Regions from separate parts of the Homo sapiens genome. Here all the other regions are linked to region 3. The links are contacts of gene promoters, found by promoter capture Hi-C in human tissues and cell types (Jung and others, 2019). All regions are on one chromosome and are shown on one strand. Each heading gives the region's core, a stretch centred on a gene start or on the middle of the fragment in contact. The rest is flanking DNA. Distances are from core to core; before and after follow the strand shown. Region 1 overlaps FANCA (FA complementation group A). Region 2 overlaps VPS9D1 (VPS9 domain containing 1). Region 3 holds the start of DBNDD1 (dysbindin domain containing 1).

The links. Contacts are between HindIII fragments. The study calls those that stand out against the background at their distance.
Region 1: a contact is called between a fragment that was not itself captured here and the fragment with the promoter of DBNDD1 in region 3, in 1 of the 25 tissues and cell types used here (stomach).
Region 2: a fragment that was not itself captured here is called in contact with the fragment with the promoter of DBNDD1 in region 3 in 1 of the 25 tissues and cell types used here (lymphoblastoid cells).

The regions. Positions count from the first base shown.
Region 1 is chr16:89,760,142-89,763,022 of GRCh38, forward strand. It overlaps FANCA (FA complementation group A), which reads right to left. Exons shown (of 43, transcript NM_000135.4): 29 at 1,808-1,881. Among named protein-coding and RNA genes, the nearest start is that of ZNF276, 40 kb to the left of the region's middle. The HindIII fragment of the contact is 3,867 bases long and covers 1-2,881 here.
Region 2 is chr16:89,704,235-89,707,315 of GRCh38, forward strand. It overlaps VPS9D1 (VPS9 domain containing 1), which reads right to left. Exons shown (of 15, transcript NM_004913.3): 15 at 2,900-3,081. Among named protein-coding and RNA genes, the nearest start is that of SPATA2L, 4.1 kb to the left of the region's middle. RefSeq lists enhancers at 1,996-2,175, 2,153-2,653. The HindIII fragment of the contact is 7,089 bases long and covers 1-3,081 here.
Region 3 is chr16:90,018,184-90,021,031 of GRCh38, forward strand. DBNDD1 (dysbindin domain containing 1) reads right to left here and starts at 1,273. Exons shown (of 4, transcript NM_001042610.3): 1 at 1,128-1,273. The coding sequence starts at 1,158. It also overlaps a transcript of DRC4 not described here. RefSeq lists silencers at 1,392-1,531, 2,278-2,572. The HindIII fragment of the contact is 9,907 bases long and covers 1-2,848 here.

The sequences.
Region 1 (2,881 bases), core at 382-2,881, 260 kb before region 3:
ACCTGATGCAGCATGACCTCATGCAGCAGACAAGCCCCTCCCTCTGACCTCCTCCTTAGACTCCACCCCAGAGAGCAGCCGGGAGGAGAAACGGGGGTGAGTGAAGGAAGCGCCTGCAGAGCGGGCTTGGCACGACCTGAACCATCAGCACGTGTTTTGCCGCAGGCAGCAGCGAGTTTTCTTTTTGTGGCCCCTATGTTTTCCTTTTCCTATTACTTCCATTGGTTTCATCCAGAATCTGATACCAGGATCCAGGTGCAGGCGACAGTGCTGCATGTGCCTGGAAGGCCCCTGATGGCCGGAAGGACGAGGAGCACAGGGTGGCTGTTGCCAACCCTCTCCTGAGTCTAGGTGTGGCAGGCACCCTGAGGCCCATATACCCACCAGGATACTCCATATCTGCAGTGACCACATTCCCCTCTCCCTGACCTCCACCCTAAACTCCACACCCTTAAACCCAACGGTCCTCTGGGCTCCCTACTCCTATGCCCAGAACAGCACATCTGGCCTCTCAAATAGTCTCAAATGGTCTCAGTCATCAGCCCTGGGACTCATGGGGGTTCACTGCTTCATTTACCCACTTCTTGGTGCCCCCAAGTCAAGGCTGGCATCACTCCTCAAAGTCTGCACCACCTGCTCCACACCAGCCTCTGCTCCTGCCTGGTCATTTCCTCTCACACGGCCCTGTCTGTTATCTCCAGGGCTCATTCCTACCTTTAATCCACTTCTGTATCTACCTGTGTGTTGCCAGGGCCTGGACACAGGTGTACAGCTCCCGGACAGCAGCCATAGCCCAGCCAGGGTAGGGTGAAGTCTAAGTGGGTGCCTTATACGTGCCACATCTGCCCTCATTGATACAAAGGTGCCATATGGGCAGGCTTGTTTATTCCCCTCTATACTCCCTGCTTCTAGAACACTCTAGAATTGTCTGCCACATGGTAGGAGCTCAGTAAATGTTTCTTAAATAAAGGAATAACAACCGAAATTGGGCAACCTGGCCAGGCGCGGTGGCTCACGCCTGTAATGCCAGCACTTTGGGAGGCCAAGGCAAGTGGATCACGAGGTCAGGAGATTGAGACCACCCTGGTTAACACGGTGAAACCCCGTCTCTACCAAAAATACAAAAAATTAGCTGGGTATGGTGGCGGGCGCCTGTAGTCCCAGCTACTCGGGAGGCTGAGCCAGGAGAATGGCGTGAACCCGGGAGGTGGAGGTTGCAGTGAGCCGAGATCGCGCCACTGCATTCCAGCCTGGGTGACAGAGCAAGACTCTGTCTCAGAAAAAAAAAAAAAAAAAGAAAAACAGAAATTGCCACCGCGTGGAAGCTTTACTTTCGCTTTTGCTTTAATAAATCTTGCCACCGAAAAAAAAAAAATTGAAATTGTGCTCAAAGATTAACAGGTAAACCAAACATTAAATTGAGGATAAAATGACGAAACATAGGCTTTAAGGCAATGTGGAAAACCGTGTAACATTTTAAAGGGAAGCTCCTTTTTCTTTTGAGATAGGGTCTCACTCCGTTGCACAGGCTAAAGTGCAGTGGTGTGATCTCAGCTCGCTGCAGCCTCTACCTCCCAGGCTCAAGCAATGCTCCTGCTCAGCTTCCCAAGTGGCTGTGATGACTGGAACGTGCCGCATGTCCGGCTAATTTCTTTTCTATTTTTTGTAGAAATGGAGTTTCCCCATGTTGCCCAGGCTGACCTCAAACTCCTGGATTCAAGAGATCTCCTGCCTCAGCCTCCCAAAGTGCTGGGATTATAGGTGTGAGCCATCATGCCTGGCCAGGGTAGCTCTTTTCAACACTTACCGTTCAGTATCTGAAAGAGCATCAGCTTCAGGTTGAATTTCCAGCTCCAGGTGTAACCAGTCTTGGTAAGTTAACTGAGAAAGAGAGCAAGCAATTCAATACAATGAGGACAGAACACACAATCCACCGACAGGTTTATAAACCAGTTTGTCATTTCATCTCATACGCAGTCCTCCATGTCCCTGTGTTATAATGAAATTGCAGCTGAGAGTTCCACAGGAAAGAAACCTTAGTTTTATCAAGAATGATTTCTTACAGGATTTCCCTAGCACAAAGATGTTAGTACTGTAATCCTTCTTTCTAAGTATAAAACGGCTATTTTAGTCTGGGCAACATAGTAAGACCTCATCTCATTTAAAAATTACCTGGGCACGGTGGCTCATGCCTGTAATCCCAGCACTTTGGGAGGCTGAGGCCAGCAGATTGCTTGAGCCTAGGAGTTTGACACCAGCCTAGGCAACATGGTGACACCCCGTCTCTACAAAAGATTTAAAAATCAGCCAGGTGTGGTGGCACATGTGTGTGGTCCCAGCCTCTTGGGAGGCTGAGGCAGGAGGATCTCTTGAGCCCAGGAGGTCAAGGCTGCAGTGAGTAACAGAGTGAGAACTATCTATAAAAAGGAAAAAAAAAAAAAAGAAAAAAGAAACTAACAAAACAACAACATTCTACAGCTATTCACAGTAGCATACCTTCATTTATTTTTGGAAACAGGTTCTGTTGCCCAGGCTGGAGTGTGTGCAGTGGTGCAATCGTAGCTCGCTGCAGACTCTGCCTCCTGAACTCCAGAATTCTCCCCCTCAGCCTCTCAGATGGCTGGGACTGCAGGTGCACATCACCATGACCAGCTAAGTTTTTTAAAAACATTTTTAGGAGGCCGAGCACGGTGGCTCATGCCTGTAATCCCAGCACTTTGGGAGGCCGAGGCAGGCAGATCACGAGGTCAGCAGATTGAGACCATCCTAGCTAACACGGTGAAACCCTGTTTCTACTAAAAATACGAAAAAAAAAAAAAAAAAGGGTTGGGCGTGGTGGCTCACACCTGTAATCCCAGCACTTTGGGAGGCCGAGGCGGGA
Region 2 (3,081 bases), core at 14-2,513, 310 kb before region 3:
AAAAAAAAAAAGGATGAGGTTGTTCTGGGTTGGCATGGGCCCTCAATCCAGTATGACTGCTGTCCTTATGAGGAGAGAGAAACTTAGATATGAACGCACAGGAGAGAAGACCGCTTAAAGACGGAGGCAGAGTGGAACGAGGGTGCCGTGAGCGAAGGTAACACAGCTGTGTTAGAGCCACCAGAAACTGGAGGCAAACAGAATTCTACCCTAAAGCCTCCAGAGGGAGTCAGCCCTGCTGACAGCTTGATTTTGACTTCAGGCCTGCAAGATGGTGAGAGAGAACATTTCTGTTGCTGTAAGCCACCCATTTTGTGGTCGTTTTGGCAGCCCCTGGCAACACATCCAGTCCTCACGTCGTCGTTCCGACAGCCCTGAATGAGGTCCCAGCCGACAGCTGGCACCAACCATAGACAGCAGACAGCTCTTCGGATGAATCCAACCCCTGGTCATTGGGTTACCACCTAGAAACAGCCTCCCATGATGCTGAGGAGCCATCTGGCTGATTTTTGTACTTTTTGTATTTTCAGCAGAGACAGGGCTTCACTATGTTGGCCAGGCTGGTCTCAAACTCCTGACCTCAGGTGATCCACCTACCTCGGCCTCCCACAGTGCTGGGATTGCAGGCGTGAGCCACGGTGCCCAGCCTAATTTTTAACTTTTTAGTAGAGAGGGGGGCCTTACTATGTTGCCCAGGCTGGTCTCAAACTCCTGGGCTCAAGTGATCCCCCCGCCTCAGCCTTCCGAAGTGCTGGGATTCCAGGTGTGAACCACCATGCCTGGCGTCTTGAGTATTTAAGCCCCTGAGTTGGGGTAGTTTGTTAGGCAGCGGTGGCTACGTGGGCTGTACACATTCACGGCTCCCTCCCTTCCTGCCCGGGGATGGACACTCCATGAGCTGCCGTGTGGATTCTCCGTCCTTCCCTGCCCTCCCGGGACAGACACTCCATTGCCTCCACTGCATATACATCCTCTAAAACCGGCAGCAGCCTTGCCAGGTCGGAGGTTCCGTCCACACTTACCTGGACTCCAGGACTGCACCTGGTCCCCTGGGGCCACTGCCGTGTCCACCCCACAGTGTGCGTGAGCTCCCTCCCCCTCCTGTACTCAGCATCGTCCAGCTTCCTCATCTTCTCCGGTCCAATGGATATAAGGTTACATCTTGTTTACTTTTCATTTGATTTTTGTTATGATTTGGACACTGCTTATGCAGAATAGTTTTATTTTTATTTTTTTTTAGATGGAGTCTCGCTCTGTGCTCAGGCTGGAGTACAATGGCGTGATCTCGGCTCACTGCAGCCTCTGCCTCTCAGGTTCAAACAATTCTCCGGCCTCAGCCTCCTGAGTAACTGGGACTACCGCCACCACGCTCAGCTAATTTATGTATTTTTAGTAGAGACGGGGTTTCGCCATGTTGGCCGGGCTGGTCTCGAACTCCTGACCTCAAAAGAGCCGTCCGCCTCGGCTTCCCAAACCGCTGGGGTTACAGGCATGAGCCACTGCGCCCAGCCATTACTTTTTATTTTATTTTTATTTTTTGAGACGGAGTTTCTCTCTGTCGTCCAGGCTGGAGTGCAGTGGCACGATCTCAGCTCACTGCAACCTCTGCCTCTCAGGTTCACGCCATTCTCCCGCCTCAGCCTCCCGAGTAGCTGGGACTACAGGTGCGGGCCACCACGCCCGGCTGATTTTTTGTATTTTTAGTAGAGACGGGGTTTCACCGTGTTAGCCAGGATGGTCTTGATCTCCTGACCTCGTGATCCGCCCACCTCGGCCTCCCAAAGTGCTGGGATTACAGGCGTGAGCCACCGCGCCCGGCCATTTGTAGGATTTCTAAAAGGAAGCTGCTATTATTCATTCCTGTCTTATGGGGGAGCTGCAGGCTCAGCGAGGGCAAAGCTGCACAGCAAACAGCAGCACTTGAACATGTCTGCCGGGTCTCAGCGCCAGGGATACAGCTGAGCCAGGACGTTCCCGGCCCCCACAGTGTGCAGGCTGCAGGTGTGGCCCCGATGCCAAGCCAGCAGGGGCTCCCACGCCAGGATTTGTTCAAGACACAGCTCATCTCCACCATTCTATGAAGCGGACTTTAAAATCCCATCTTCTAGACACCAACGCTGAGGCCGGAGCAGCCCAAGCTCCAAGGCACCGTGGCCAGCTGGGGTTCGTATCGAGGGCTGGGGCAGATGCTCCAGCTCTGCCCCACCCAGAGAGACACTTCTGTCTCCCTATGGGGTCCTTGGCGGGTAAACCAGCCCCTGCTCAGGGTGCAAGCACAGAGCATCCCACCGAGGTCCACAGCTACTGCTTTTAAGACTGTTTCCCTGAGAACAGCAACACTGCCCCCCAGCCAGCTCCTGGTAGCATCTAGGGTTGGGACCTCCCACCCCACCAGCCCTGCCACCTGCCTCCTCATGGCATCTCAAGGTGCCAGGGGTGCCTTTCTTGCAGAAGAGCCCTCCATCCTGATCTGCCCACACCGCCCTGGCAGATGCTGTCCACGCCCGGCAGCCTTCTGTGCACCTCAGAGCATGTGTGTGTCGCCATGCACAGAACGATGATTCCTGAGACCCTCGGGTGACTGCTCTGGGCTCAGGTCCCCAGTGATGACCTGGACCCCAGCCTCACCCCACCCTTCCCACCCACTGATGCCCTGCAGAGCTCTCCTGTCCAAGAGGGTGAAGCCCACACCTGCCTGGCCAGGCACAGCCCCAAGAGGACCCTGCTTCTATGCAGAGGGTCTCGGAGGCTGGCAGATGTTCAAGAGGTTGGGCCAGGCTTGGTTTGGGGCTGGGCTGTGGCTCGTCCCCCACATCCTCAGCGGCCTCTGCCATGGGCAGCAGGGGTGGTTGTGCTGCCTGGCCAGTGGGGTGGGGATTGAGGGAGCCACACGGCGAAGCACAGCAGTGAGCTCTTTATTTTAGGCTGGGTGGGGGCAGCATGTGACAGTCAAGAGGGCTGACCCTTGGGCTGCACGGACCTAGATAAGATGCCCAGGGTCCCGGAATGTTCACAGCCCACAGCCAAGGTGAGTAAGGGGCAGGGAATGTCCTGGGCTCAGAGCCCGAGACCCTGCAGGGG
Region 3 (2,848 bases), core at 23-2,522:
CAGGCTTCCTATGTCCACAAAGCTGCTACTGGGAATACCCAGGAGCCTGGGACTATCAGTGTTAAGAAAGAGCTCTGGTCCCTCCCACAAATGACAAATCAAAACCCAAACCCACCAGCCCTGGGGCATTTGTCCCTATACCTTGGACTGCAGATACACAGGGTGGGTGGACCTGCTCCTCCCGGGGACAGCCCTTCGGGCTCCAGAGGATGCCACTGTGTGCGGCTGGGGGACTGAGAGGTTCCCATGTAGTTCCAGAGCGGCAGGCTGGCCTGCCTGTGCCCTCAGGCACCTGCTGGCTCCCTGGAATGGGAGCTCTAGGAAACCAGGAGGTGGTGGGCTTGGCTGGGCAGGTGGAGGAGTCTGCAGTTTGCATCCAAGTTCCTACCTAGGCAAATGGAACCCCGAAAGCCCTTTTGGAAAAGTCTCTGATCGGGAAGGGGGGAGGTTCTGAGAGCTTTCTTCCCGTTACCGACTCCAAGGTCCTGCAGTAGGGCCTCCACCATCAGGGCAGGGAGCGCTCCACGCGCACCTACCCTCCCCGATGAGCGTGCGCCTGGGCCACTCCCGGACCAGCCACCCTTGCAGCTCTGGAGTCCCCGGCAGGCCGCGCCCGTGCATGCCCCACATCCCCAAGACCCATCTCAGCCCCTCGCCCCTGGCAGGATCCCTGCCCGCGAGTCTACGGCCCTCGCCCCCCGGGACTCGCGGCTGGGCGAACAAAGCGGACGCGCTTGCAAGCGGCCAGCGTCGCCCTCACGCCCCACCGACAGGGACCCCAAACTCCAGCCCCGGAACCCCCCTCCCCCGCTCCCCGGGTCACCGGCTGGCTTGGCTGGGAGGGGGCTCAGGACGAAACTCCGGGCCACCCACCAAGGAGCGTGCCGGGCACGGCTTCCCGGGCCGGGAGCGCAGAGAACAAGGGGGCGGAGACTCGGTCCGTGTGCCCCCAGCCCCGCGCGGGGACCGCGCCCGGGAGGTGCCCCTGGCCCGCCGGACGACCCCGAGCTGCCAAAGGGGTCTTCGCGACTCCCGGGAGCGGCGAAGGGTGAGCCCTGGGGGGAGGGGCTGCGGCTCGCTGCGGGGAAGCGCTGCGCGGGGGTCTCGGGGGCTGGGGCTGAACTCACCTCCGGTGCCGGCGCCCTCCGGGGGCTCCATGCGGCCGGTGCGGTCTGGGAGGGGCACGGGCGACGGCGGCGTCGCCTGGCCCGGGCGCCCCAACAGCTGCGGCAGCGACTCGGCCCCGGCTCCGGGCGCAGCGCATCGGGGCAGCAACCGGGGGGCCGCGGCGGCAGGGAGGAGCCCGCGGGGCGGGGCGGGGCGCGCAGCTGCTCCCGGGCCCCGGCCCCCTCCCGGCGCCCCCCCAGCCGCAGGACAGGTGCGGCCCCGCCCCGGCCCGCGCGCGCCCCCTGCTGGCCCCTGGCCCAGCGGACCCCTCCCCCGCCGACCCTTCCCTCGCGGGCCGCGCCCCGCCGCGGACACCACCGGGACCTGGCTGCGCCCTCCCGACCCCGGCCGGGCGTCCGGGGCTCCTGCGCACTCACTTGGCGGCCGCGCCCGCTGGCGTCCTCTTGTTCTCTTCCAGGTACTTGCGTGTGGGGCGCCGACTGTGTGCGGGCGCCCCTCGGGGCTGGCGAGGGGCACAGGAGGGGCCTGACTCGCGCTGGGTAATGACAGACTCACAGAGCGCCCTGGATGGCGCGAATTAACGCGGGGGGCGGGTGGGGGCGAGGGCGTGTGCTTGGGAGGCTGGAAGGGGCGGGATGGGGGATGGGAGGTAAGGAGAGGGCGGCGGGCCCGGGCTGCAGAGAGCGCCAAGGCAGTTTCGATGAAACTGACCCCCATGTCCCTATCGCCCAGATTCAGCGATTGCCAGCTCCTGGCCTGGGCCACTGCTTCTCTGTCCTCATTCACTTCCCTCCACTGCTGGGTCATTTTGAAGCAAATTATATACACATTAGATCATTGCATTTGTAAGTACTTCAATATTTATCTCTCAAAGAAAGTCCGTTTGCAGGAGCATTGACTCATGCCTGTAATCCCAGCCCTTTGGGAGGCTGAGGTGGGAGCACAGCTTGAGCTCAGGAGTCCAAGGCTGCCGTGAGCTATGATTGTATGTCTCAAAAAAAAAAAAGAAAAGAAAAGAAAAGAAAAAGTCTAGTCTTCATAAACACTCTTGTTAACCCAGCATCCAGGCCTTCACTGAGTTGATGCCGTGGCCTGAGGCGGTTTACCTGGTGGATAGTGGGTGGCAGGAAGCATCAGACATCAGACAGAGGGCAGTCGGTTTGTTTGTATTAACATTTGCTCTGGGATTTTGCAGGAAACTCAGATGCCATTTATCTGGGTTTCTGAGCTGCACAGCTTGACACTGAATGAAAGTATCTTAAGCCACATATGTGAAGAAAAGGCTCTTTTCTAAAAATCTGAACTCGAATTCAATATGAAAAGAACAGGTCGCAGTGGGCCCTGTCGGGATCCCAGGGAGCCGCAATTCAGGGCTCCCTGAATGATTCATCTCTGCAGCCCACACCGACAGACCAGGATTGCTCTTAGCTTGTGAAAAATGAGTACCCTGTCTAGGCTATCCTGAGCTAACCCTCCTATTCTTGCCCTTTTTGCTGAAAGGAATTATTGTTAATACAGCTATTTAATTCAGGACACTCATCCAGACTTCTGAAGCAAAAAGCCAATCAGCATGAAGCTGCTAGCATATTGGTTTTGTGAAGTAAGTGTTAAATTATAATAATTACCCCCACTGTGCTCTCCAGCGTCACTGTCTGACCACCCTGTCCCAGGGGGAGGAGGCCCCTCTCAGGCCAAGGGAGTCTGGCACAGTGATGCTGGC